Regions from separate parts of the Homo sapiens genome. Here regions 1, 3 and 4 are each linked to region 2. The links are contacts of gene promoters, found by promoter capture Hi-C in blood cells and fetal thymus (Javierre and others, 2016). All regions are on one chromosome and are shown on one strand. The core of a region is centred on a gene start or on the middle of the fragment in contact, and the rest is flanking DNA. Distances in the headings are between cores, read along the strand shown. Region 1 overlaps RNF220 (ring finger protein 220). Region 2 holds the start of ERI3 (ERI1 exoribonuclease family member 3). Region 3 overlaps ARMH1 (armadillo like helical domain containing 1). Region 4 overlaps RNF220 (ring finger protein 220).

The links. Contacts are between HindIII fragments. The CHiCAGO score rates a contact against its expected background, and 5 or more counts as called.
Region 1: a fragment that was not itself captured here is called in contact with the fragment with the promoter of ERI3 in region 2 in 2 of 17 cell types (megakaryocytes and erythroblasts); the score reaches 7.1 in megakaryocytes.
Region 3: a contact is called between a fragment that was not itself captured here and the fragment with the promoter of ERI3 in region 2, in 1 of 17 cell types (megakaryocytes). The highest score is 5.7, in megakaryocytes.
Region 4: a fragment that was not itself captured here is called in contact with the fragment with the promoter of ERI3 in region 2 in 6 of 17 cell types (neutrophils, M0 macrophages, M2 macrophages and 3 more); the score reaches 6.7 in neutrophils.

Annotation. Positions count from the first base shown.
Region 1 is chr1:44,649,095-44,656,684 of GRCh38, reverse strand. RNF220 (ring finger protein 220) reads right to left here. Exons shown (of 15, transcript NM_018150.4): 13 at 6,916-7,024; 14 at 6,728-6,802; 15 at 4,962-5,981. The coding sequence ends at 5,910. TMEM53 (transmembrane protein 53) reads left to right here. Exons shown (of 3, transcript NM_024587.4): 3 at 1,476-3,438. The coding sequence ends at 2,126. LOC107984950 (a long non-coding RNA gene) reads left to right here and starts at 7,019. Exons shown (of 2, transcript XR_001738031.2): 1 at 7,019-7,590. RefSeq lists an enhancer at 5,820-6,401. The HindIII fragment of the contact is 824 bases long and covers 3,798-4,621 here.
Region 2 is chr1:44,352,536-44,359,716 of GRCh38, reverse strand. It overlaps ERI3 (ERI1 exoribonuclease family member 3), which reads left to right and starts at 4,460. Exons shown (of 9, transcript NM_024066.3): 1 at 4,460-4,825; 2 at 6,792-6,867. The coding sequence starts at 4,691. RefSeq lists enhancers at 4,176-4,225, 4,126-4,626 and a silencer at 4,496-4,725. The HindIII fragment of the contact is 14,792 bases long and covers 1-7,181 here.
Region 3 is chr1:44,679,683-44,686,571 of GRCh38, reverse strand. The region is part of intron 1 of ARMH1 (armadillo like helical domain containing 1); the gene reads right to left. Among named protein-coding and RNA genes, the nearest start is that of ARMH1, 8.4 kb to the right of the region's middle. The HindIII fragment of the contact is 270 bases long and covers 1,263-1,532 here.
Region 4 is chr1:44,621,922-44,629,124 of GRCh38, reverse strand. RNF220 (ring finger protein 220) reads right to left here. Exons shown (of 15, transcript NM_018150.4): 4 at 6,338-6,383; 5 at 2,727-2,828. Among named protein-coding and RNA genes, the nearest start is that of SNORD145, 46 kb to the left of the region's middle. The HindIII fragment of the contact is 3,508 bases long and covers 1,353-4,860 here.

The DNA.
Region 1 (7,590 bases), core at 2,960-5,459, 300 kb before region 2:
CTATAGAACAGCCCCTTTTTTCATGTTACTGGCTTATTGAAGAGACTGGGCTGCAAGATAATATTTCTAGGAGTGTGTGATTCCAGATGCTGCCAGGGAGAAACATACAGTGGGGACTGAAAGGCCTCTGTCAGATTTGAGCATTTGGGAGAATGTGGGTGGCCTTAAGCAGCCTCCTCTTCAGAGTCTTGGGAGGGATGCTTAGGCACTCCAGGGCTAGGAGGTCAGGCGGCTGATGGCAAGGTACCTCTGCTGACCATCCCTGTTTAGCCATGGGTCATTTAACTACTGTGGCCATACGATTTTCTCCTTGTCACTACCACATCACTAATTACTGCTGCTGTTGGTTGAGAGTTTACTTTGTGTCAGGTACTGCTTTGATCATTTGAGATACATTTTTTTTCATCTAATTTTACCCATAACCTTATGAGGTGGGTGTTATCCCAATTTCACCGTAATCTTATAGATGGGGACCCAGACTCAGAAAGTAGTAAGCTGCTCCTTGTTCTTACTATTGATACATAGTGGTGCCAGGAGTTGAACCCGGACCTGTCTGACCCCAGCACTCTCCAAAGTCACATTCCCCTGACAAAGGGCCCTTTGTCTCTGAACAGGAGGATGAGAGGGGATTAGGAGCCAGGCATGGTGGCTTTTCTAACTGACCTAGAAGGGGACCTGTGTGGAGATTGTGGCACCCTTGGCCCAAGCGTGAGGAATATAGAAACCTAGAGGGAGTTTGGGCCCAGATTATAGAATTCGAGGAACAAGTGTTTACTGTATTTGGAATTTCAGGGCAGATATGAGGAGTGATCCCAGGCCGGGGAACCAGGGACATTTGAGTGTCAGGTCCCTGAGTCCAGAGAGTATGGACTCTGTTTTTAGGAGCCTGGGAGAGAGGGAAGGTGACAGTGACCAGTGATGAAAGTGATGTGGGCCTGGCTCAGAAGTGGCCTCTGGTGGTCAGGGCTGGCGCCTGCAGGCCAGCTCTCGGGTACTGGTCTCATGGGGGTACTACTTCTGTCTGGGAGGTAGGGACAGTGCAGATCTGAGGTGCTGGGACAGGGTATAGCCAAGCAGTGAGGCCCCATCCCAAATGTGCAAGGCCTAGGATGGGAGTGCGGGGCACAGACAGGAGGGAACCAGAGTAAAGAGACTTCCTCTGGTCAGCCCAGGTGTCTCCAGTATATGCTTCAGGCTCTGGGCCTCAAATACCACTCCAGGCCAAGAGGGCTTGGCCAGCATGAAGCAATTAGTCCAAAAATGGGCCTTAAGTATACCTTCCCTGCCCAGAAGGCACCTGTGTCTGTGGGCAGCGGGCTGGTGGGCTCAGGCTGAAGCAGGACCCAGAGCATTGCTGACGCTGTGGGCCCCATGGCCTATGTCCTACAGGCTGGGGTTGCTGGGCCCCTCTGACCTTAGCTTGTACCCACTACCCCCACCTCATCTGTGAGGACTGACCAGGCCTCTCTCCCCAGGGCTGCATCGTAATCCGATACACAGCCCCGTGGCACATGGTCTTCTTCTCCGAGTCACTGGGTATCCCTTCACTTCGTGTTTTGGCCCAGAAGCTGCTCGAGCTGCTCTTTGATTATGAGATTGAGAAGGAGCCCCTGCTCTTCCATGTCTTCAGCAACGGTGGCGTCATGCTGTACCGCTACGTGCTGGAGCTCCTGCAGACCCGTCGCTTCTGCCGCCTGCGTGTGGTGGGCACCATCTTTGACAGCGCTCCTGGTGACAGCAACCTGGTAGGGGCTCTGCGGGCCCTGGCAGCCATCCTGGAGCGCCGGGCCGCCATGCTGCGCCTGTTGCTGCTGGTGGCCTTTGCCCTGGTGGTCGTCCTGTTCCACGTCCTGCTTGCTCCCATCACAGCCCTCTTCCACACCCACTTCTATGACAGGCTACAGGACGCGGGCTCTCGCTGGCCCGAGCTCTACCTCTACTCGAGGGCTGACGAAGTAGTCCTGGCCAGAGACATAGAACGCATGGTGGAGGCACGCCTGGCACGCCGGGTCCTGGCGCGTTCTGTGGATTTCGTGTCATCTGCACACGTCAGCCACCTCCGTGACTACCCTACTTACTACACAAGCCTCTGTGTCGACTTCATGCGCAACTGCGTCCGCTGCTGAGGCCATTGCTCCATCTCACCTCTGCTCCAGAAATAAATGCCTGACACCTCCCCACAACCTGCAATCTGTCGGGCACTCTTCTCGTTCAACTCCCTGTAGCCCTTTGGGACTTTGCGGTCCCCTAAGTAGAAAATTCCTATGGGCCTGTCTCCTGGGGGCCTCTGTCTGCTGGTGGTCTGCTTACCACAGAATCCTAAGGGGCAGGAGTGCCTGGGCATGTGTCTGTGGGAGCCTTGCAGTCAGTTGTGTTTGGACAAGTGCAACAGTCAGGCTGCTGATTCCTGTGGCATGCAGGCTGTAGAGGTTGACAAATGGAGGGGGGTGTTGAGGGTGAGCCCTAGTTGATTTTTTAAAATTTAAACTCTGGTAAGAACATTTAATATGAGACCTACTCTCTTTTTTTCTTTACTTATTTATTTATCTATTTATTTCAAGACAGGGTCTCACTCTGTCACCTAGGCTGGGGTGCAATGGTGCAATCATGGCTCACTGCAGCCTCAACCTCCCAGGCTCAAGTGATCCTCCCACCTCAGCCTCCCAAAGTGCTAGGATTACAGGCATGAGTCACCGCGCCTGGCCAAGATCACCTAACAAAATTGTAAGTGTGTACGATACTTAAAATTTAAGAGATTATGTGCACGGCAGACCTCTAGAACTGAATAGTCTTGCATCTTGCATAATTCAGAACTTCATCATCTTGCATAACTGAAACTTTGTGCCTGTTACCAGAGTTGAGTTTTGATTCCTTGAATGGAAGGTGACCTTTGTGGGGAGATGCCAGAGGGAAGGTATATCGGTCAGGGGTAGCGTCAGGCTGCGGATAGGGGCTATGATCTTTGCTCCAGCAGGGCGAAGCCCTACAGTGTAAAGTACCATTCACATGGCTCCCACTTGGCAGTTCACTCAGAGAGGCTCCTCTGACCCCATTGCCTGGGAGTCTGAGGTAGAAGCCAGATGAGGAGCTGAGGTTAGGGGCCTGCCTGGCTCTACCACACTTTGCTAGGAAGCCGCTGGGTCTGGGAAAGTTGCAAGCTGAAAGTTGCCAGAGACAGTGGGGGGCAGGAAGGCAGCAGCATTGTAACAGGAGCTGGGATGAGCTAACTCCCAAGCCCTAAAGACCAGAACCAGGGTAAGGGGATTTGGGCTGAAATAGCAAACTCCTTCATCTTCTGGAAGGGAGACCCACTTAGATACTCTCTAGGCAGAAGAGGTGAATTCAGCCTGATAGTTCAGTATCATTGATCATTCTAGAAGTCACTACTGCACAATGTTGGCATATAGTAGGTATTCAATAAATATTTGATTGAATGAGCTTACCGTGGTGATCACGGGGCTTAGGGGGCAGTGAAGGAGATGGCTAGAAAAGCTCTGGATGGGAGCTGACTCTTGGGGATGATGGATCCTTTGTCCCCAGAGCCGCGTTCTGTCTGCATCCCATCAGTCCTTGGTGAGTCCCCACTATGGTGGCAGGGATTCCCATGCTGTGTGGCTGCATTCCTAGCCATGGCCAACAGGTGGCAGTGCAGCCTGTGCCATGAGACAGCTCAAGGCTCCCACAGCAGGGCGGGCTTCAGTGGAATGCCCTCACTCTGGGTTAATGGCCCCTTTTAGAGACCATATGGCCCCCAGGGTGGCAGTAACCAGCCATCAAGGACCTACTGAGTCCAAGCTTGTGGGAGGGGAGACTAAAGACATCAAAGAAGTCGGCCTGACAGGAACTGGGCATTAAGAGCCTCCTCTTCATCTCTCCGTTGCCCTCACCTACCCACTCTTCTCTTCCAAACCTGTTTCTTTCCCAAACCCTCAGCCATCGCTGGAGCTGTTCCACCCGCCTCGACAGAGGCTGTGTACATCCCCAGGATCCCTGTGTTCAGGATATTGGGTGCCATCAAACTGGGCGTGGAGCTGTGAAGGGCCTTTGCTGGGCTCCAAGGGGGACTTGTCTGTGCTTCATCTGGGTGCAAAGGGTGGCAGGAGCTGCCAACTGGACCCAATTCTGAGGAATTCACTGTGGGTATCCCAGAGAAAATGGGCAACTAAGGCTGGGGATTTGGGCAGATGGGCCTGGTGTGCAAGGTGTCAAAGCAAGTCTGGAGTCATGGGGCTACTCTGGGGCCTTGACTGTTTTTCTCCAAACAGCTTTCTGTTGTGGGTGAAGACTTACATGTAACTTTTAGCACCTGCCTGGGAGGCATCTAGGAAGCTGAGCTACCTCACTGGCAGTGGGGAGCTGTGGGGGTCAAAGTGCCATCTCTCCAGCCTTGGTTCTCTGAGCACATGGGAGACTTGAAGGTCCATCCTGGATAATAGGGTTTCCATTCTTTCCATTTGAGAATCTAGGCAGTAGCTACACTGGGATGATGGTCACTAGAGATACATTTGGAGAATAGAACAAAAGCCTGGGAGGCTGATAGGGTGATCCCACTGTGGTCTCTGGTATGTTTCAGGGGACCAGAAAGGGATAGAGGCCTGGGGCTTGTGTTTGTACCCAAGCTTGTGGCCACTCCTAGCCTAGGTTGGGGGATAGAGCTTGCATCCCCTCTGTACCCCCAAGCTCTGACCTCTTCTGTGATTAATGAGCTGACGATTCTGCATCGATAAAGAATTAACCTAGAGCCCCTACCCATCAATAGTCAGGAGCCCAGATCCCCAGCCCCACCCCCCTCCAAACCAAATGCTCCACGGCCCCAGAGCAGACCAACCCTGCACAGTGTCATACACCTATAGCTAAGTCCTTTCCCCCATCCTGCCACCAGGAATTAACCCCTTAACTGCCTCAGCCCACCTCCCCTAGTTAGCTCCCCCACCACCCCACACACATAACACACAGGCAGCAACTGTTTATACTGGTTTAATCCATGTCAAATGTAGTTTACAAAGGGAAAGGACAAGTACCTTTGTATAGAATATACAGACACAGCATCACACCACAGGGCCCACGGGAGGGTCGGGGAGACGACACTTTTTCCCTGGGAAAGGCAGCTCTAATCCCAGGAATGGTTCTCAGCAGAGGCTGGGTGGCCAGGAGCACTGTCCTCTAGCCCCCTAACTCAGCCTCTGCTTCAGCTCGGTTCCCATTTCCTGCCTCTACCCCCCAACTCCTTATAAAGAGCCCCATGAGCTAAGACTAAGGAGAGGATCATGTCCCTTGGGGCGTGTGCCCCATGTCTGGGAGAAGAAATATACACCACTGAACACCGAGCACATGGGAGAGGGAAGGGACACCACAGGAGAGAGAGAGGCAGGTACCCCAAGAGGTGGATGGGCCGAGCTCCCAGCCAACCCTGAAGGAGGCGCTGCTTCCAGGGGTTCTTAAAAAAGAAGAAAATCATACAACCAAAGGGGGAGGGGACAGGTAGAGGGCGAGGAGTTGTCCCATTTATACACAACATTGTAAACATACACGGTCTATATTACATGTGCTTCAGTCTGGTGTTTGCATGTCTGTCTGTCCGTCTGTCAGTATGGGGGCTGGATCTTAGGAGCCGTGCCCCACTACTCCCCCAACCCCCACCTCCCTGCCCCACCCTGGGAACAGAGCTGGAACAGGTATGGCCCCCAAACCATAGGTGGGAGCCAGCAGGTAGTGCCTGGGCCACAGCCTCTACTCTGGCTCCAGAGTCCTGCGTGTGTAAATGTGTGTGTGTGTACGCATGTTTGAGTATGTGCATGTATGTACATGGGGAACCTGTGTGCAAGTATGTACAAAGGGAGACGGTCACTGTCACAGAGGCTGGGGGCAGGTGGGGCTGCTGGAGGCGAGGCCTGCCTGGGGCAGATAGCTCACAAGTAGATCCTCCGCAGGTCTCCGGGCGCTGTGATCGTGTTGCACTGAGGGCAGAGCTTCTTGGCACCCTGCAGGGAGAACAGGGAGGGCTCTGGTCTACACAATGAGCCATGTGTGCGCATGTGAGCACCTGGGCCTGCAGCCATGTCTCTCTGCACCAGTGTGTGCTGAGACCTTGGTCCTGTCAGCCCAGGCTGGGGACGCATAGGCAGCTTCTGTGAGCAGGCAGGCACGCTCCTGTGTTGGGGGGACGCCAGGATCAAACCGCCTGGCCAGCCCCGCAGCAGGAGCCCCAGTAATGAGAACAAGGCTGGGTCCAGCTGTGGCAGCCGCAGCCCTAACGAGATTACACGCGGCCTTTGATCAGGACACAGAGCCCACGTCCGAGCCTTTTATTACTGTCTCCGGGCGACATTTTAATGGCTGCTCCTGAGCGAAGAACAGGGGCAGGAGCAGAAGGAGCTTAGTAATGGGAGGGGGAGGGGCCAAGGCCCTGGTCCTGTTTACCTACAGCCAGCCTCCTCCTGACCCCAGGCCTCACCAGTCTGTGTGATGCAGTGGGCCTTCGGGGACCGGGGCGGGGAAGGGAGAATGCAGTGAACTCATGGAGGGGGAGAAGTTCCTAAACCTGCAGTTGGGGAGGAGAGGCAGCGAGCCTGGGGGTAAATATCCTGCGGGTAAATATCCTGGCTCCTGGCTCTGTTCTCCTTTGCGCCATGCTCCCCACTTCCCCCAGGCAGGCTCAGGCATAAGCACAGACATCTGGGCAGTGCCCGGAGCGGCCTCCCATTCCCCGACCCCCATGCCACCTCACCAGGGTCCGCAGCCAGCACTCCTCGCAGTGCACGTGCCAACACTGGATGGACGTTAGGGGCATCGAGTACGAGTCCTAGGGAGGAGGGGGCAGAGAAGGGGTCACTCTGAGGTAGGCCCACCCTCTCCAACTCCCCCAGAGGGCGTGGAAGCCTGACCAAGGGCACCCCTAGGTTCTTTTCTACTCACCATGCAGATGAGGCATTTGTAACGGTCCCCACGAGATAGCTGCCGTTCAAGTTCTCTGACCCGAGCCTTCAGAGCCTCAAACGTGGTCACAGCTGAATCTTCGGTGATTCTGTAAAAAGGAAGGCATGGTTGGGTAGCAGGCTGGCATCTCTCATCTGTACCTCCAGCCTACGCCTCCCTTGAATTCCAGAACCAAATACATAAATGTCCCCTAGGCATCCCTGCCTGCCCCCTTTCTCTGATAACCTGAATCTGCAAATTCCACATTCCAGAACTAAACTCCTCACCCTCTCTATTCCTCCATTCCCATTCGGATGAATTTCTACACCAGATACCAGGGAACCATTTTCAACCACTCCTTCGCAGTCTTCCCAACCACCCAAATCTGTCATCTCTCCTAGTATCTCCGGCATCTCTCCTCACCACCATGAGTCCAGGCTCTCAGATGTCTTCCACCAATTCCACCACTAACTTTTTCCAGACAGCCTTTCTGCCTCCAGGCCCCTCATCTCTATTCCACTCTCCCAGCGCCTAGAGGAATTTATGTTCTCAAAGCAAATCTCTCGTGGTGTGACTTCCAACATTCCAATGTCCCCCTTGGAGTAGAGAGCTCCACTACACTCCTTGGTCCAGCCCCAGCCCGCCGTACCCCTGAGGACCTTGCCACGCATTTTA
Region 2 (7,181 bases), core at 3,211-5,710:
TCAGGGTGGAGTCACAGGATTTGAGGTAAGGACACTGGGACTAGAGAGGGGACAGAGAGTAGGCAGAGAGTGTCACAGCCTAAGGAAGAGAACCTCCCTGGGCAGGTGGCTCCATTTGATTTCCGATTTAAAGGGGAGGCTTAGATAGCTAAGAAGAAAAAGGCTAATAAGAAAAATATTAAACTGCAGTGTGTGTGTCCCCAGGGACTTCCTGTTGCCATGACTGACCTCCCGGAGAGCGCCATTCGTTCCCAAGCATGGCAGCTTTATAGGCACTTGTAGGCCTGCAAAGAACACCAATTTGCTGCTGCAGTTTGTTTTGATAACTGAAACTTTCAATAAATCTATATTAAAATCAAAGGGAAAATTAACTAGGCCCTAGTGAGGGGCACGGAGATAAGGGAGCACATTACCACCCTGGCCTCTGCCACCCCACATCCATCTCTTAGTTCAGATTCAGGTCACCAGGGAGATGAATGGCTCAAGCTCTTGGGGAACAGCTCTGGGGAAAAGCAGGAAGAAGGCGGCATGGCCAGATCCAGCCCTGACTCCTCCCGGAGTGGCAGAAGACTGCTAGGGGGTTGGGTTGGGGAGAAGAGGAGGTGGGGTGGTGGTGGTCATGGTGGGAAGAGGGGCAGGAGAAAGGGGTAGGGGAAGGGTGAGAATAATAGTAATAGCCACTGTTTACTGAACTCTTTATTCTAGATAGTGCTAAGCAGTTGTATATTTAATTCCAATAACAAGTAGATACAAGTATTATCTACATTCTAGAGATGAAGAAACTGAACTTCAGAGAGGTATGTGACTTGCCTAAGGTCACAGATGGAGCCAGGACTCAAACCTGAACAGGTTCTCTCTGAGCCCACCCTCCTATGCTGTTTTACATAGCTTACAGGGACTACGACAGCAGTAGCAGGTCTTCCAGTTGCCACATAAAACGGTTTCAGACCCAGTCTGGGTTCTCTCAGCTGTGCCAAGGTTTGCGGGCTGCCATGTATTATCCTTGGGTCCTGCACTCTCTGCGCTTTGACAGCTGGTTAAGGTCCTAGCTTTGATGACCACCTTGCTGCATTTCCTGGTGGTTTGACAGGGTATAAGAAGACCTAACTGACCAGGCGTGGTGGCTCATGCCTGTAATCCCAGCACTTTGGGAGGCCAAGGCGGGTGGATCACCTGAGATCGATAGTTTGAGACCAACCTGACCAACATGGAGAAACCCTGTCTCTACTAAAAATACAAAAATTAGCCAGGCCTGGTGGTGCATGCCTGTAATCCCAGCTACTCGGGAGGCTGAAGCAGGAGAATTGCTTGAACCCAGGAGGCGGAGGTTGCGGTGAGTTGAAATTGCGCCATTGCACTCCAGCCTGGGCAACAAGAGTGAAACTCCATCTCAAAAAGAAAAAAAAAAAAAAAGGCTTAACTTGGTCCTCTCTTTTGTTCTTGCTCTCAGTGTTCACTTTAGCTCAGTCGCTCAATCCAGCAGCTAGGGTGTCTGTGTGTCTGTGTATTGAACTCAGTTCATCTGCCTCCCCAAATTCACTTGCCCTTGCCTCATCTGCATCCCCGACTCTGGCCATTGGCCACTTATTTATTGCACAGCTCAACTGCCACTCCCACCTCATTTACTAACACCTCTGGTTGTCTTTGTTTCCCTTGGGATGATGGCTAGGTTTTGACACAGCCTCCAATGTGCCCACTGTGGCGGGACTGCAGTGGACCTAATCTGACCCAACCAGAGGCTTTGATTCCTCTCACCATTTCTAGTCTCAAATGAATGACTGTGCTTCCAGGTGTGGAATCTGGCACCCCCTGTGGCTACGGCAGTGGTGGGGTAACATAACCCTTCCTTCTCCCTGTCACACAGGATGGTTCTACACACCTTGTACGACAGAGCAACTAGTTGTATTTTCTTTGAGGCACTGGCCAACTTCTCAGTAAGACACTATCTTGTACGTTCTTTCCCTCCTTCCCTGCTTCACTTCCCCCCTTCCCCCACTCTTTTATTTATTTGTTTATTTAAGTCACGGAGTCTTGCCATGTTGCCCAGGCTAGCCTTGAACTCCTGACTTCAAGCGATCCTCCTGCCTCAGTCTTCTGCCTCCTGAGTAGCTGCGACTACTACATGCGTCACCATACCCGGCTCCCCTCACTCTTGATGCCTTGGGATTGAACTCCCCAATTAAATTTGAGCACATAAGTTTTGCCTCAGGCTCCGTTTCCTTTTTTTTCTTTTATAGAGATGGAATCTTGCTATGTTGACCAGTCTGGTCATGAACCCCCGGGCTCAAGCAATCCTTCCACCTTGGCCTGCCAAAGTGTTGGGATTACAGGCATGAGCCACTGTGCCCGGCCCAGGCTCTGTTTTCTAGGGAACCAGATAGCACACAACAGAGCCATGGCTTGAGAAAGCCAAGTGCTGTGTTAGGCGGCAGTGTAAGATACCAAGTGTATACTGAGCTGTTAAACTGTTCTATTATTTGAATCAATTTGCCTGGTCTTTGTACAAAAAGAACTTACAGTGTGGTGAAGTCCTGGAAGCTGTACAGTTGAGCCCTAGTGCACCAAGGAGGAAAGAACACATTCTGGGGAAGTCAAGGGGACCATGGAAGGCTCCACAGAGGATGTTGGGGCTGGGCATTACATAAAGCCTTGAATCCAGATACTATAGATTTACTTCATTCTTACAGCCAAGAAGATTGGCTGTGCCCTACTCTCAGGCCATAACTCAGTATATAACAAAGCTATCTCACTGCCTCTTGTCTTATTTTTATATTTACTTGTTTTATTATCTATTCTTCCTCCTACAGCCCCTCCCCAATTTATTTATTATGGCTCACTGCAGCTTTGTCCTCCCAGGCTCCAGTGATCCTCCCACCTCAGCCTCCTGAGTACCTGGGACTACAAGCACGTGCCACCATGCCTGCCTAATTTTTAACTTGTTTGTAGAGATGAGAATCTCATTATGTTGCCCAAGCTGGTCTTGAACTCCTGGTCTCAAAGGATCCTCCTGCCTCAGACTCCCAAAGTGTTAGAATTACAGACGTGAGCCACGACACCCAGCTTCCCTCTCCAATTTAAAAGCTCCTTGAGAATAGAGGTGTGTCGTTATTCATCAATGAATCCTCAGCAACAGAAACAGTGCCTGACACTTAAGAGAGGCACTATAAATACAGATGGACTGACTGACCAACTGGGGTTAATGTGTAGGTAATAATAGGAGAATCTGTTCCAGCTCCAAGAGTTGGGGGATAGTGCCTCCACTTTACTGACCTCGGGATAAGTCTGTCCCTGCTGCTGGATATTCCCTCATTTGTTCGCAGACATTTATTGCGGGCCTTCTTTATACCTGCCCTATGCGGTGTATTACTGATACAACATGAACAATATGGAAAAAATGCTTTTCCTAAAGGACTTAAAACCCTGTGGGAGCGACAACAAGGAAACAGACAATTATAAGACAATATGATAAATGCTATAGGTCCACAGCAGAATCACCTAACCTATGACGTGGGTGGGATTAAGGAAGGCATTCCCTGATATGGGGATTACCAGGCACTCTCAGCTCAGGTGGAAACCGTTATGGTAAGGTCCGCTCTCAGAGGTGGTAGGGCCCAGAAATGACATCATCCTAAGTGTAAGTATGCAGACAGCACACAGAGGGGCTTGGTAACTGAAGCTGGGCCCAGAGGATGGGGTCCTGACCGATTGGGAAGCTGTCAAAGCCATCATTCCCAGCTCATAACCTGGGACCCATGACTACCCAGAAAGGCATAACCAGGATGAAGAAACACAGGTCTCTCCAGCTTACTGGAGAGACTGACTGGGGAAGCTCCTCACAGCTGAGGCCAGAAACCTTTTAAACAGAAGTTTCCTCTGAGTGGACCTGAACAAGCCAGTTCCCTCTTCCTTAGGACGGCCCTTCACAAATCTAAGCATTTTCCTCTTAGCTTAATCCCTCCTTGTCTCAGGTCTCCCCCAGGCCCACATCCGAAAGTAGATGACAATAATTACTTGTTGAATGAACGAATCATGAGGAGTCATGTAAATAGAATTCTGTCACGTTGTGAGCCCACATTCACCTTACGGGTATATTGGAGGGCGGGAAAACGGAGATGGGGGGCTCCACTAATGTGTGTCTGTGATCCTGGTTAGATCGCTGTAGGCCATAGAAAGTTTCATTTTAAAAAAATTCCTTTCACAGATCAGAAGTGATGTCCCCGTCCCCGTCTTCTCTTCTGAGTTTGTGCAACGTCAAAACTACAAGTCCCATAAGGCCGGCGGCCGGGAGTCACCATCTTGACATACCTTAGCGCGCATGTCGGCGGGAGAGCGAGCGTTTGGGGAGAAGAAGCCCCGCCTGACTGCAGCCCATTGGTCAAAGGGGTCGGCAGCGGGCTCAGCGGTTGGCCACAGCGCCCGCCCGTCCGCCGCGTCGGTCGGGGTCAGAGTGCGCGGAGGTGAGTCGGTGTGTTGTGGACTCGTGGTGCTGGCTGCCGCTGTTCAGGCGGCCGGGAACGGGCGGTGGGGAGCGGGCGGAGCTGGCCCTGCCTCTGCCTGGCCGGCGCCGCAGTCGGCGCGGGCCGCGCCCGCCGCCGCCAACTGCCCTGAGCGCTTGCTGAGGCCGAGGGAGACGTCGGGGCCTGCACCTGGAGGGAGCCTGCCGCGCTGGCCCCGAGGAGGGGGCGTTGCCATGGCGACAGCCTCTCCCGCTGCTGACGGGGGGCGGGGGCGGCCCTGGGAAGGAGGGCTGGTCTCCTGGCCCCCCGCCCCTCCCCTTACTCTCCCCTGGACTTGGATGGGCCCGAGTTGGGGGCAACACCCCGGGGTGGGTGATGCTGAATGGCCCCGCCAAGATTGGGCCCTGGTTAATGCATGCGGGGTGAGGGTCGCGGTGCGCAGAATTTATGCAACCTGGGGTGCTGGCCCATGTGCTTACCCTGGATGCTTACTTAATCTACTGAGTAATGTTCTGGCGGAGGGGGAGCGGGGCAGAGCTTTGCAAGACAGGATGGGTGAGTTTATTAAGGGGGTTGACTTACTGGGATTACTAGAGAAGAAAAAGGTTTGACTAGAGAGGCTAGAAATGGAGCATGGAGATTGTGGGTAGAACATTCCCTTGACCCTCTCGCCAACACATGCCCACACACCAGGTTAGCAGTTTACCTCTTTGTAAATCTGAAGCGGTGGTAGTAGTGATGGTGGAAGGAGTGAATAAGGGCCTAACCTGGCTAGCTTTCTGTTTGCCTGTCTTGCAAATGGTCCAGCAACAGGTGTTTTCTTAAAAAAAGCATGAACTTGGATTGAGGCTTGACTGCGAGTTCTTGCAAAATATAACTGCTCCTTGTTGACTTGGAAGATGCTGGATGTGGGGCCCCTCAATGGGGGTTTGGATTTTGTCCTTAGAGCTGGATTTTGCAACAAATAGTGCCCATCGTTGTGTCTGCGAGAGGTCTCTGGCCACTTCAATGGCATTTACTCTTGTCAGACATTTAATCAGTCTCCCAGCGGAAGGGCAGCAAAACATGAATCCTATTGGCTAAAAGAGTGTACGCTATTCAAACTATAGTAGGTTGTGAGTGGCTAAATGAGTTTTGATTGTAGAGTTTCTTCCAGAAATTGGCTTCATCAAATTCTGCTTTATTCTGACTTTATCATATACAGCATGCCTTGTTTTAGTGGGTTCTTGCTTGGAGCTTAGTTTATTATACCTGAATCTCCTACCATTTAAAAGCCAATTTATAAACAGGGACTTGGAGTGTGACTCCACTAATGTGTGTCTGTGATCCTGGTTAGAAACCCACTTGGCTGCCTTTTCCTCAGGAGGTGGGGGTTGGGGGAAGGGAGCTGCCGGGAAGTGATTGATAAGGTTTCCTTTATAGATTCTGTGGTGCTTCACTGGAGCTCAGAGCACTTTGGCAACTTAAGCACTCCAAATTAAAAGCTCATTAACAATTCCTGCCCAAAGATCCTGTAAATAATCAGCTAGCTAGGTCATAGAGCTTGGCTAAGAGCTTTTCTTCCAACTTGAAATTTCCAAATAAAAGTGCTTTTATTCCCTTTCATTTTAAAAAGTGTTTTCTTTGTGGTGGGGTAAATTGGTGAGTGGCCTTTTCCCAGGGGATCTGAGTAGAAGAAAGTCTTAAATGTGTGGAATGGTAGACAGGAATATATTAGTTCCAACCCTAGGTGTTTCTTTATGCAAAAGACATCACTAACAGGGGCATCTCTGCAACTTCTGGTCCTTTGGAGGATATGAATTAGTTGAAAAGGATGATAGGTATCTATTGATGTTTTGACTTGGGATTTAGTTACCTTGACTTTCTTAGAGCTTGAAGCAGGCTTGGAACTATCCTGAAAGTGTTTCCTAGTCTATGTGGCCATTTTCAGTATGGCTTGTGGATTTGTGGCAACCAACCCCTACCCCAGTCCTGGCCCAGCCTTAGTTCCTTAGTTCTGAATATTGTCAGCCTTACCAGTGTCTTCCTCCTTGACTAGACTAGGATTCTGAAACTACCCAGAGGCACCACTTCATAGCTATCTTTCTCGGTAAATGTTTAGTGTTTCTAGGAGGTGAGCCTCCTTAGGAGCAAAAGTATATGACTAGAGAACATGAAAATCATTACAAATGTAGTACTAATAGTTTCTGAAAGCTCTGTGGGGGCACTGTCTTTGCACATAGATAGCAGTTATCCCGAAGTTTGAGTTTAGAGTTTGAGGTGTAGTATCCTTCATGGGGATTTGATCCTTGGTATTGAAATAGACTTGTTGCAGAGATGTGTATTTATCCACAGCATTGGGGCTTTCCAGCTCTCACAGAACCTTCAGCATCCCCAGCTGCCGGTCTTGGCATCTTCGAAGTAAGGAGAGGTGAGAATCCTGTTGCATGGTCAAGTCTGGCTTTATTTTCTTCTGAGTATTTGGGCTTGGAGGGTAGGGGGTGGGGGCTGATGCAGATTGTATTTTTTTTCCCATGTATCCCCAAAGTCTAAACGAATCATATTTTTTTGTAGCTTCTTCTGATAAAGTAACATATGCTCAAAGTCTGTAGAAACTTACTTAAAGTTTCTAAAGTGGTAAGAGTTGGAGGTGGGAGATCCAGACTGTCAAGTTCTGTCACAACTGCTTTATGGGCATCTCATGAGCACCTACTTTAGGTTCAGGATGGTTGAATAGAACCAGAA
Region 3 (6,889 bases), core at 148-2,647, 330 kb before region 2:
CCTGAGTAGCTGGGATTACAGGCATGTGCCACCACACCTGGCTAATTTTTATATTTTTAGTAGAGATGGGGTTTTGCTGTGCTGGCCAGGCTTGTCTCAAACTCCTGAGCTCAAGTGATCTGCCTGCCTCAGCCTCCCAAAGTGCTGGGATTACAGGCGTGAGCCACTGTGCCCGGCAGGTTAACATGACTGATCAAGTAAATAAACTCTTCAAGTAGCAAACTACTATTACATTTTTTTCTTACAGTTTGGTTTTACCTGGAGTTAATAATTGTCATTTTTTTCCTATTGTTTGGTTTGAAGTACCAAGGGCTATTTCATTCCAAATGTCCCAAATATGTAGTGATTATTTTTCCAAATGTTCAATCTGTAACTGATTAATTCCATCTTTTCCCTGGAAACCTCTGTCCCACAGATCTCTTTCTACTATAGTTTAGACTGGTTGCTCACTAAGGCCAGTATGCAAATGTTGTCCTGGGATTTCCTCTTGCCGAGTTTTTCTGACGGATGCCCATTTCCTGTCTCTCACATCTTCTTCCTTCTTTGTGTACTCCCTTGTTTTGTCCTGGAAAGTCTAAAAATATTGTTTTTGACCACATGTTGGATTGGCTGGGTATATAACTCCGCGTTAGAAATAAGCTATCTGGGCCGGGCGCGGTGGCTCACGCCTGTAATCCTAGCACTTTGGGAGGCCGAGGCAGGCAGATCACGAGGTCAAGAGATCAAGACCATCCTGGCCAACATGGTGAAACCCCGTCTCTACTAAAAATACAAAAATTAGCTGGGCGTGGTGGCGCGTGCCTGTAGTCCCAGCTACTCAGGAGGCTGAGGCAGGAGAATCACTTGAACCCAGGATGTGGAGGTTGCAGTGAGCCGAGATTGTGCCACTGCACTCCAGCCTGGTGACAGAGTGAGACTCTGTCTCAAAAAAAAAAAAGAAAAAAAAAGAAATAAGCTATCTGGCCAGGTATGGTGGCTCATGCCTATAATCCCAGTATGTTGGGAGGCTGAGGCAGGAGGATCACTTGAGCCCAGGAGTTTGAGACCAGCCTGGGCAACACAGTGAGACCTCCATCCCCTCACCCCCAAATTAGCCAGGTATAGTGACACACACTTGTAGTTTCAGCTACTTGGGAGGCTAAGGTGGCTGAGGTGGGAAGATCGAATGAGACCAGGTCGGGGCTGCAGTGATCTATGATCCCGCCACTGCACTCCAGCCTGGGCAACACAGCAAGACCCTGTCTCGAAAAAAAAAAAAAGCTTCCCTCAGATTCACCCTCCCCAGTTGCTGTTACTGATGAGAAATCTGAAGTCATTCTGATTCCTGTGCCTTTGTCTATTTTTTTCACTCCTGATGATTTTGAAACCTTTCTGAAGTTGTATAATGATATGCTTTGGTGAAGGTCTTTTTTAATTTACTATAGTAGGCCCTTGGTGGGCTCTTTAAATCACTGTATCCTTCAGTGTTTGGATATTTATTAGGCAACTAGTCTTCTCACTGGGGAATTCATAAATGTCAGTCAGTGGAAGCTTGTTTGTTTTTTTTTAACACCCTCATAGAGATATCAGGGTCTCTGGAGAAGACTTTCCTACTTTCCCAGGGAGGGTGAGAGAGCAGGGGTGCTATTACAGACACCTCGCCATGGCATGTTGGGAGTCAGGTGGGGGAAGGGCTCACACAATGCTGTGTGTAGACCTTCCCTCTACTCATCAGTTTTCAACTCTATGTCTCATTCCTGCCCTTCAAGCCCTGCCTGAGGTCCCTGTGCAAGGAGGCCTACAGAGTCCAACTTCCTTCCTCTTCATGCAGCAAGAAAGTTTAGAGTCATTTCTTTCTTGGCGGTTGAGGGTCTGGAGTGCAGGCAAGTGCTCTGCACACAGAGGTCAGTGAATCCCCCTAGGTTGGGCTCCATACCTCATTTCTGACCTTCAGTGGTAATTTGTGCTTTCAAGCATTAAGCCTCTTAGAGGTCAAACTGGCTGAATTGACTGGTTTCTTGTTGGTAAGCTCCCCTTGTTGGCAGTTGCTTGCAATTTCCTCTGCTTCAAGCCGGTTAGCCTCCCTGCACCTGCCTTCTGCCTTCCAAATATTTGTTGAATTCTTTCATCTCCTGTTGCCTCCTTCCATGAACTTTTGTGACTGAATGCTTTTTTATATTTCTTCAGCGGGGTTATGTCACTAAGGTTTTTCAGAAGTAGGGGGAGATAAAAGACATTAAGTATATTTAATTAAGAGCCTCCAGTCATGTATTATTTATCTCAACCTTTCTTTAATAGTAAGCTTGATGAGGGTAAAAAAAGACCCATTAACTACCATTTTTAAAAATAATTAATAAGATGAAAACAGTGGAAAAAAGACCAAAATGTGTCAATTTCAAGAGTCAGTTGCTGGGATAAATTGTATCTAAGCTTGTTGACCGCTAAGGAAAAAGTGATGTTAGCTGTGTTTCCTGGTGAAGGCAGAAGGAATGAAGGCAGGGAGAAGAAACTGACATTTTTTGAGTGTTGATTAAGAGCTATCCACACACCATACGCACACACACTCACACACTCTCTCTCTCTCTCTGTGGTTGTTTTTGTTTATAGAGATGGGGTCTCTCTGTGTTGCCTAGGCTGATCTCAAACTCCTGGCCTCAAGCTATCTTCCCACCTTGGCCTCCCAAAGTGCTGGAATTACAGGTGTGAGCCACCGCACCCTGCCTAAATTCTTTGTTTTAATCCTCTTAAGATCCTCAGGAGGTCATCATTATCCACAACTTTCAGATGAAGAAACTAAGGTTTAGAAGGGTTTGCTCATTTATTGAAGGTCTCAAATAGGGATGGGAATGGGATTTGAACTTAGATCTGCATATAACTCCAAAGTCCAGGTTTTTCCCCACTAAGCCAAGGGCATGGATCCTGTTCTCCTCTGTGCTCCAAGGTGTCACCAATAATCTCCTGTTGTCAGATTTAGTGGTTTAGCTCACCGTCCCAGCGTGCTTGGTCTCTCTGATGGATTGTGAATGACTCTTTTCCTAACCCCAGAATCCCCTGGTTCTACTCCAGACTCTCTGAATCCTCAGTTGCCATTGCAGGATAGTGCCTTTGCAGGTCGTTTTCCCGTTCTTAGTTCTCTTCTCATGCTTTGTAATCCCTGGGTGACCTCATTCACCCCATCACTTCAAATTACATTTATAGGCGCACGACTCTCAAATCCGTCTCCTCAGTCTGGGCCTCCCACCTGAGCTCCAGATCTCTTTATGTACTTAAGTGACCGGCAGACTCTTCACTGGTATGTGTCACAGGCTCCTCAAGTCAACAGGTCCCAAACTGAACTCATCAACTCACACCTGCCCCTTGCCCTGTGTTGGTCCTATTTCAGTGCTTGGGTCACCACCCTCCTAGTCAGCCAAAAGTTGTCTTTGACTTATTCCTCTCCCTTGCCCTCATCTGAACTGTTGCCAGCTCCTGCCAATTACATGTCCTAAATTTCCCTGAGATCAGTCTGTCTGTCTTCACCTCCACTGCCGCTATTTCAGTTTCACACCCTTGTTCCGCATATGGATTACTGCAACAGCCTCCACTGGTCTTCGGGCTTGCCCCAGCCTAAACTCCACAGTGATGTGAGATTTTTTATTTTTATTTTTATTTTTGAGACAGGGCCTTGCTCTGTCACCCAGGCTGGAGTGCAGTGGCACAATCATAACTTACCGCAGCCTCAATCGCCTGGGCTCGAGTGATCCTCCCACCTCAGCCTCCTGAGTAGCTGGGACTACAGGTGCATGCCACCATGCCCACCTAATTTTTATTTTTATATTTGTTTATTTTTTGTAGAGGTGGGGTCTTGCTTCGTTGCCCAGGCTGGTGTCAAACTCCTGGGCTCAAGCAATCCTCCTGCCTCGGCCTCCCAAAGTACTGGGATTACAGGTGTGAGCCACCAGGCCAGGCTTTGATGTGAGATTTTTAAAAGTACAAATCTGACAGATTTCACTGCTTCAAACTCTTCAGTGGTTCCTTACTACCTGAGGATAAAGCTTCAAACATTTCAGGCCAAAGAATTTCCATCTAAATTCGGCCCCAGGTGAAACCTGACACCCCACCCCACCCCTTGCCTCAACCCATGCTGCTGCTGCTTCTAAATCAGGAAGGGGGCTGCCCACTATCCTACACCTCAAACACCATTCTCTAAATCCCTACTACTGTTCCTGAACCCTTCCTCCTCCTCTGAGGTCAGGCCATCTGTCTTTCCCTCTCTACCTTGCCGCAGTGCCGATCAATGACTTTGACACGTAAGCCTTCCTGTTTACTCAAGAGCCACTAGGCAATTTCAACATCAGTGTGCTCCATCTTTGTAATTTGGGTGGCTAGCAGGGTCTCTGGTAAAACACAGGCACTCAATAAGTGTTATTTAAACTGACATCCAACACACTGTGCTCAGAATGTGCACTTTAATTTCCTTAGCTCTGCACATTAGTTAATTAAACAGATTCCCAGGTGCCAACTCTGAGCCGAGCACTGGGCTTGGGATTGGTTAACGTGACAAACATAGACCTTGCCCTCGGGTGCTTACAGACTGGCAGGGCAGAGAGACAAGCAAAAAGGTGATTTTAATGAACAGTGGAGAGCGCTCTGATGGGATATATCCCAGGTTCTGTTGGCGCACAGAGAAGAGACATGGAATGCAGACTCCAGCGACCTCCCGCTTTCACCTCCAACCAACACAGCTTTCATACCCAAAACCCACACCCCAAATCTGTGACTGGCTAGCACCATCCCACCTATGAAGTCTACAATTCCAAGCTCCTTACCTTCCCACCTCTTCCATCTATTCTCAGAAGGCCTACTTTTGGGTTTAACAAAGAAAGTTATAGGCCATTAGGTAAGAATGTCGTCATACTCCTCTTCTTTCTTCATCTCTATCCACATCCATCCTTCTCCTCTCCTTCTCTAGCCATCTACCAGAGCTCTGCCTCCATCCACCCCGCCTTCTCAGGGCCCTCATTCTACTCATTACTCCTGCCTCCCTTGTATCCTTAACCCCTCTATTTAGGCATTTTTCTTGTTAGCCTTGATTTTTACCTATCTTTATTATTATTTATTTATCAGTGTATTTATTCGAGATAGGGGCTCACTCTTGTCACTCAGGCTGGAGTGCACAGCACCGTCATAGCTCAATGCAGTCTTGAACTCCCGGGCTCAAGCGATCCTCCTGCCTCAGCCTCCTGAGTAGCTAGGACTATGGGTGTGCACCACCATGCCTGGCTAACTTAAAAAAATTTTTTAGAAATGGAGCCTCACGGCCGGGCGCAGTGGCTCACGCTTGTAATCCCAGCACTTTGGGAGGCTGAGGCAGACAGATCACGAGGTCAGGAGATCGAGACCATCCTGGCTAACACGGTGAAACCCCCTCTCTACTAAAAAATACAAAAAGTTAGCCGGGCATGGTGGTGGACGCCTGCAGTCCCAGCTACTCGGGAGGCTGAGGCAGGAGAATGGCGTGAACCCGGGAGGTGGAGCTTGCAGTGAGCCGAGATCACGCCACTACACTCCAGCCTGGGTGACAGAGCGAGACTCCGTCTCAAAAAAAAAAAAAAAAGGGGATCGGAAGGGGGCAAATTGGAGGTGGGGGCACCAGTTAGGAAGTCATTCCTACGGCCTTGACAAAGACGCTGATGATATTAGGGTTGGAGAAAAGTAGAAATGTCACACCATTTGAAGAAACAGGGCCTGGTGACTGACTGGCTGTGGAAGATAAAAGACGGGGAGGAATCAAGGAGGATGCCTGGATAACTTTGCTTCCAACTTCACAGAGAATATAGGGGCCATCAAGCGCAACCCTCTCCTCTTACGATCATCGTATCAGCACCCACCCTCTCCGTGGGCACTAGGTTCTACTCCTGTCTTCAATCTTCCCATCTTCCCTGACTCCTCTTAAACACTTGCTCAATCCCCACCAACCCAAATAAATATACAAACAAAGCCATCTCCTAACTACTTTTTCCGTAAGCTTCTACCCTTCCTACTTGCTTCACCCCCAGATTTCTCCATTAGCTCACTGTGGCCTACTGGATAAAGTCTAAACCCAATATGGCACTCAAGGCCCTTCAAAACTTGGCCCCAGCTGGGCGCAGTGGCTTACGCCAATAATCCCAGCACTTTGGGAAGCTGAAGCGGTGGATCATGAGGTCAGGAGTTCGAGACTAGCCTGGCCAACATAGTGAAATCCCGTCTCTACTAAAAATACAAAAATTAGCTGGGTGTGGTGGCACGCGCCTGTAGTCCCAGCTACTCGGGAGGCTGAGGCGGGAGAATCACTTGAACCTGGGAGGCTGAGGCTGCAGTGAGCCAAGACCGTGCCACTGAACTCCAGCCTGGGTGACAGAGTGTCTCAAAACAACAAACAAACAAACAAACAAACAAACAAACTTGGCCCCAATCTAACTTCATCTCTAGTCACTTCCACATTACAACAACCTTGCACTCTCAACTCCCCAGGCCCTTCCAGGGCCCTCTGCATCTCAGTGTTGCTCTGCCATCAGGAATGGCCAGGTTCCTTTTTGCCCTTTGGCAAACTCCCTGGGACAACTAGGGGTTTGCAGCTCTGGTCCCATCCATGCCACCTCTTCCTCTAATATGCTTTAAAACTTACCCATCCTTCCCACTAGAGTGTGAGTTCCTCAAGGGCAGGGGTTGGTCTTCCCTGTCTCTGTGTCCCTAGGACCTGGCATAATGCCTGGCACAAAACAGATGTTGAATAAATGCTCGCTGAGTGAATGTGTGAAGAAATCACCCAGCTCCTGTTGAGATGATTATATCTGAATGTCCATGATATGCAGGTCCATAAAACTACCAACTTCCCAAAGCTGCCATGTGCGGAGTGGCAGAATCTCCATCCAAGAAGGCCAGTGCA
Region 4 (7,203 bases), core at 1,857-4,356, 270 kb before region 2:
AGGATGAGAGGCCACATGGAAGAGAGCCAAGACACCCAATCTCCCAAACATGCGGTGAGGCCATTTTAGACTTTCCAGCCCAGCCAGTCCTCCAGGATGAATGAGCTGCATGAGTGAGGAAATGCCCAGTCAACCACAGCATCATAAATAATGAGTTGTGTTAAGCCACTAAGTTTTGGGATGGTTTGTAGATAACGGAAACATACCTGAACAGGTGATCACAATGTAGGGTGACGGGGCAATAACCAGGACACACAAGGGTCAAGAGATAGCTAATCCAGAAAGACTTCCTGGAGGAGATGATATTTGGGCAGGATTTGGAAGGATAAATAGAAATTTGATGTAGTGGGGTAAAACAGTTCTGTTAGAAGAAATAGCATGTGAAAAGACATAGAGGCAAGAAAGGAATGCCTCATCCAGGGAGTGTTTAGCATTAGTTCAGTGAGCATAGCCCATAGGATTCATGGACAGTATTTGGAATGGAAGCTGGAAATATAGGTTGAATCTATATCACAGAAGGCCTCGCTGCCATGATAAGGAGCTTCAGCTTTATCTTGTAGGACACAACCTAGTTTGATTTGCCCTTTCGGAGGTGTGCTTAGAGTCTAGAACAGGGTCTTGGGTCTTAACCTGGGCTTCAGAGATCTCCAAGTGGTATTGGGATGGGATCTAGAGCTTTCCTAACCTCCTGAAGTTGTATGTATAACACTGCATGTGTGTGTGCCTGTGTGTATGTAAAAACACATGCGTATGTTTTTAGGCAAGAGAGTCCATAGCTTTCCTCATAGTCTCTAGGAGATAAAAGAAATACTGACATTTGTGGGGAGGAAGGTGGGTCAGGGAGTTGAGGCATTGTTGCCTGATGGTTACTCTTTCCTAGTTGAACAGATGGCAAGGCGCATGCCGTGAGTGCAGTACAGAGGACAGGCCTCTGAAGGTGGGGCTGTCTATTCCTCTGGACCAGAATGCTCTGGAACAAAGCCTTGTCTCTGTTCCCTATCAGATCAGAATTCCCTGGGGTCTGGTCATTTCTCTGCCTTGAACCAGGGTTGTCTGGATCGGGGCAGTGTCTCCCAGGGGCTTATTGGGCTTCCTTTCTGAAACTGGGGTTCCCTTAGAGAGAGCAGGGATCCCTTCCCAGGGCTTGCACTTTGGGCTATGCAGTTTGAGTCCCATGCAAAGGCATTCGGCGGAGTCTGTCCAGCCGTGCTGGGCACTCTACTCTCCAAGCTCTGCACCCTGTGCCAGGCCAGGCTGTGTCAGCTGGAAGGAAGGGGTGCAGAGAACACCTTTCTTTAATTCCCACAAAGGGTCAGGTGTGCCAGCAGGGCCCCTGGTTCTCTACCCAAGCTTACAGGTCCCTGCAGCCCTGTCTTTCTGTATCAGATCAGGGCTGTTCTTCCCTTCTCACACTGGGCCTCCCTGCGAAGCCCTGTTGCCATTTGGACAAATGTTCCTTGGAATAGGGCACTGTTCTCTTTCATCTAACGGCTCTGGGGTTCTTAAAGACAGGGCTCTGCCTCTCCTTAGACAAAAGTTTTGGGGGAAGTTCTTTGTCCTTCCTACTCCAGAGAAGGTCCGTTTATAGCTAAGATGCTACCCTTAGGCCCCTCTGCTATGATATTGTAGGACTGTGTGATGACTCCCTTCCTATTTGCCCAAGACACTCACAGGCAGTGTGTGCCTGTCTCTCTATCTGGGCCTGATACCAAGGTTTGGCAGAATTGAATGGTTATTTGCTTAAGGTATCACGCTTTTTTTTTTTTTTTTTTTTTTTTTTGAGACGGAGTCTTGCTCTGTCACCCAGGCTGGAGTACAATGGCGTGGTCTCAGCTCACTGCAACCTCTGCCTCCCGGGTTCAAGTGATTCTCCTGCCTCAGCCTCCGGAGTAGCTGGGATTACAGGCGCCCGCCACCATGCCTGGCTAATTTTTGTATTTTTAGTAGAGATGGGGTTTCACCATGTTGGCCAGGCTGGTCTCCAATTGCTGACCTCGTGATCCGCCCGCCTCGGCCTCTCAAAGTGCTGGGATTACAGGCATGAGCCACCACGCCTAGCCTTTTTTTTTTTTTTTTTTTTTTTTTTTTTGAGATGGAGTCTCACTCTGTCGCCAGGCTGGAGTGCCGTGGTGCAATCTTGGCTCACTGCAACCTCCATCTTCTGGGTTCAAGCGATTCTCCTGCCTCAGCCTCCCAAGTAGCTGGGACTACAGGCACACGCTACCATGCCCAGCTAATTTTTGTATTTTCAGCAGAGATGGGGTCTCACCATGTTGGCCAGGATGGTCTTGATCTCTTGACCTCGTGATCTGCCTGCCTCGGCCTCCCAAAGTGCTGAGATTACAGGCATGAGCCACTGCACCCGGCCGGTATCATGCTTTTGAAGTCTGAAATCTTCAGGTGATTCTGGGCTATGTATCTGGGTCTCTTATGAAACCAAACCCCATAGGATACTTCCTGATGGATAGAATGATTCAGAGGTGCTCAGAGCCCATGGAGCCCATGTGACCTTGGCATCTCTCCCTAAAATCCATCTATTTAAGGCCTATTCCCTGACACGTATGCCTCCTGAGTTCACTTAGGGGCACGGGACACAGGGGGAACCAAACCCAGTTCAGGCCTCTCCTGTGGCCTACAGAGGAGAGGAGGAGTTAGCACCGGGCAGGCTCTTGAAGCCCTCCCCCAGGTGAGCTTGCTTCTCATGGCCACTCACCACCCCTCCTCACCTGGTATCTGTCTGAATGGTGGAGGTCATCGGTGGCAGATGAGTGGGGTGATGCCGTTGGAGACTCTCCTTCCCTCTTGATGGAAGCAGACAACAGGAGGGACTGGAAGAAGAAAAAAGACATGTGGCCTCAGGCCAAATGAGACCTACAGTCAGTCCCTAGAGTTCCCAGTCCTGTGGTGCTTTGGGGAGCCAGGCAAAGAGAAGGAGGCTGAGGGATAGAAAGACCACTCTTGAGATTCTAAAGGCATGGGGTCAAGTCCTGGGAGTGTGGTTGTGGGAGAGCATGGCTTGGTTTTAGGGATGGGTAGAGACCCCTTGAGGGACCCTGCTTAGGCTAATCTCTGTCCCAGTGGAGTGAGACTCCCAGTCCACTCCGAGTAGGCTGAGACTATATATGTTTTGTTTTCCCTTGGAGAGCAGAGACTCTGGGATCCCCATGAAGGGTTGTGGGTAAAGCCATATACCCGCTACCCCGCCTGCCCTTAATACAGGCTGATGGCAGCCCCACAATGGAGACAGTAAATTAAATAGCATGTGAGTTTCCCACGTGCAGCTAGGGATGTATGTGGGTCCATTTATCCCGGTGCTACGGTGATGACCCCAGCAAAAACCCCAGCAAAACTAATCCCCCCATGTCAATCTTGTATGGCCTCTTCTACATACGCCTGCAGTTTAGATTAATAAACTGTCTGCTTGAAATTGTGTGCAATCACCACAATTCTAAATACCACATGGCACATTCTGCCTGAGAGCCCGCTCTTGCCAAGGCCTGTTCAGCTGCAAACTGGGTGCCTGGAGGCCTGAAAGCAATCCATACTTCCTCCCCCCACCTTCTCCAGCCTGTACAGCTCTGAGCCGGAAGCACACAGTTCCCTAGGAGTCTTCCCCAGCTTAGAAAACCATGCCAAATCGCCAGTGACAGCCCAAAGAAAGCAATTTGGGAAAGATGGAGCAGCCATTTATCCTTCATCTCCGGCTGAGCCTTAGGATGTGACCCGCATGCGGTGGCCATGCTGCACATCCTCAGGCAAGGGCCCTGGAAAGGGAAGGGACAGCTGCTGGTCTGGCAGGGCTCCCTGACTTGCCCATACCCCAGGAGCTGGAGGAGAGAAGAGGCTGGAAAGGGCCTGCATGGGATTCTCTGCAACGTGGAGCTCCTTCTTCACCCATCCAAGCCCAGTGGGAGGCCTCATGGGTGACCCAGCCCTCAGCTCAGAAAGGAGGTGCTCTCAGGCAATGTTCTTCTCCTTCTCTGGTCCCAAGGAAGATGCTAACGAGGGGGAACAGTGTGGGTCACCCCGACCTCCGGCCCATGAAAAAGCTCCTGTTTGTGCGCTTTCTCTCTCTCTCTCTCTCTCTCTCTCTCTCTCATTCTCTCTAGGTTAGAAGCCCTGAGAGGCCTCGGCATTACACCTGGGGCAAGCGGAATAAAAAAAGGTCACTGGTGCTTTTTAAACATGGACCAAAAAGCAGTAAAATGTGTTTTGAAAAAAAATCCCGGCATTAAATCATGACTTTTTGCCTGGCTCTTCGCCTCATTAAAAGTGGCCTTTTGGAAGGTAAAATTATCATTGTAAGCGATAAGATCTTTAAGAAAATAATTCACGGCTTCTTCACCCTTTAATATGATAGCCGCCACCGGCTAATTTTTTTCTTAATGGCAACGAGGCCATCAATCTTGTCTAAGGCCCCCTCGCCCTCTCCTCCTCCTCCCTCCCTCCTTCTCCCTGTCCTTTCAGTCTCTTGCTTGAACCTTCTCTCTCTCGCCTCTTCCACTCACGACCTGCTTCCCTAAAGCCTAGGTCAAGGCAGAGGATAGACCCTGAACTATTCAGCTTTGGGGGTGTGGGCATATATCTGGAAGTGGGTGAGCAAGTGTCCCTTATCTCTGTGTCTCATGGTCAGTATGCCTGTGTCTGTGGTTTCAGGACACATGTTTTAAGACTTCCTATGTCTGTATTCTGACCTGAGTGTGTGTGTGGGTCTGTATATGTGGGGAGCTAGGGACGGAGGTAGACTGTGTCTGCCAGGGGTTTGTCCTTAGAACACAGGCCTCACTGATGTCCAAGTCCCCAGCCCTGCCAGCCATGCTCAGGTGTCAGCTGTCACCTGTGGTGGCCGACTTGGAAGCTTGTCTCTGACTTTCCTGAACCACACCATTAAATGCTGCAGGCTGGGCCACACTCAGTGAGTGTAGCTCGCTACCTCTGTGAGTCTGCAGCTGCCTGGCACCCCCAGCCTCCCCTTTCTCTTTGGGGCTTTGACTCCTTGGCCAAGGCCTATACCCACCCAAGGCAGGGCTAGGTGCTCTGCTCCTCCTCTCCCAGCTTGCTGCAGGTGAGCAGTTTTCTAAACGAAGGTACACGATCCATTCCTATACCTTTGAAAGGCTTGCAGGGTATTTGGGTCTACCCCATGGAAGTGATACTTGTCACTCTGGCTCCTTTCCCAAAACTGCCCTCTTAGAGGTCACCAGTCACTGCCAGACTTCTAAATACAACGGGCCCCTTCTCCAGTCTTTCCCTGTTTGACTGCTGACCACCTGATACATTTAGAAACTTTCTTCCTTAGGATCCTGAGATACCATGCTCTCCTGTGCCCCTCTTAACTCACTGAGTGTTCCTCCTCTGTCTCCTTCCCTGCCTCCTGGACCTTATCTTGACACCAAGTGCAGGAGTCCCTCAGATTCTCACCTTGGCCTTTGCTCTAATCTCTCCAAACACTCTCCTTCACTGATTCCACCCATTCCCAAATCTTCCATAGTCATTCCTCACTCCCTATAAAATGGGCTAGGGGTGGCCTCCTGTTCTGAATAATTATGGGAAAAAGGATGCAGTCTTCTACCGAGGAATGGGGAAGGGGATACTCAGTGAGTGAGGGTTTGGTTCTCCCCATGTATCCATCCCCTCAAAACCACCTTTGGGTAAGTAGTACCCACTGTGTCCATGGCCATCTTTGAGGAGTTCTTGATACAAATGTCATTGTGCTAAGGCCTCTTGGCCCCTCCTTTGAGCCAGATATTTGCTCTTCACTTTCCCTTTCTCCAACTGATGCTTTCAAGTCTTTCTCCCACAGGGTTTGTTCAGAGAGGCAGACTAGCTCCCCAAAAGAGTCCAGCCTCTTCCTTGGCTCCTTGTTCCCCTCAGGACAAAGTACACACAAACACACACACACGCACACACCTGCACATTCATACACCCCTGTGCCCCCATAGTCTGGCTTCTAGGGCCCTGCACTATCTTGACCTGCATTTCTTTATTTTTCTTCATCTGCTATAGCTCACTTTCTTCCTTTGAGTCTTCTCACCCTTAGTGTCTGGGTCACCCACATCTCCCAGGCCATTCTTGGCTCTGACCCCTCTCCTGGCTGGAAGAGGAGGAAGTCAGATGAGCATACTCTCACTCATGCACAGACCACACACACTTACACACACACACGGCGCAGCCCTAGGCCTCAGGATGATGTTCAAGACCTGGAGATAGTTGAGGATATTAGAAAAGCTGGAGATAGTTGAGGATACTAGAAAAGCTCCTTTTTCTCAGGAGGAACCAGTTCTGGGTAGGCCTAGGTTAGTATGGGCAGGAGGAAAACATGTAATTGGCCACCTACCTTTGGGGTGCCTGGAGCCATGGCATCCTTCAGAAGGGAATTCTTGCTGCCAAGAAAGAAGAGAACAGGGTAACCATTCTACCTGCTGCCCAGGGCATGCAACGGTAGAGTAGCAAGAAGACCCCAAAGACAGAGAAGGCATAGACCGCCTAGCCCAGCCCAGCTCAGCCAAGCTCCACCCAGTCCTTTCAATCCCAGTGGCCCAGCCTCTCTCATGGGCTGAGTGGCTCAGCCTCTCTCTTGGGCCAAGGGCTAGTGCTGGCCCCTGGGAGGGAGACACAGACACTAGGCATGGTAGATTTCCCAGTGGATCTGAAGAAAGGGGCTTTACCTGACTCCTCGTATCAGCCCTGAAGATTCTGCCTGTCCTGGAGACCCCCTTCTCTCCACCCCCTGTTCCCAGCCCGCTCTTAGCTCCTGTGGGATTGGGGTGATGGAGCTGACAGGGCTCTTGTCAATTCTCCCTCCAACATGCTGCAAACTGTGTTAGGCCAGGAATGATCTCCCCCTGATTCAATTTGTCAGCCCCAGGCCCTCCGGCATCGGGCGCGGCAGGCAGGCGGGAGCTGGGCCCTGAAATATGGTGGGCGGCTCAGAGCAGGCGGGGGCTGGGGTGGGAGGTGATGGATGGGCTGTGGGGGAGGCGAGGACTGTGTTTAATAACAAAATTGGTATGCAAGGCCACATCCTGCGCTAAGCATGAGTGATCCAGAGCCACAAAGTATTACAAATCCCTGCTAAACAGATGCTGACAATGGAACAAGACGTATCAAATCAGATCCACTTCAGAAACATTAATATCCCTGTTCCTGTCCCTCCCTGCCTGCTGCCCCCACTACGCTTGCCACATCTGTGCTCGCACATTC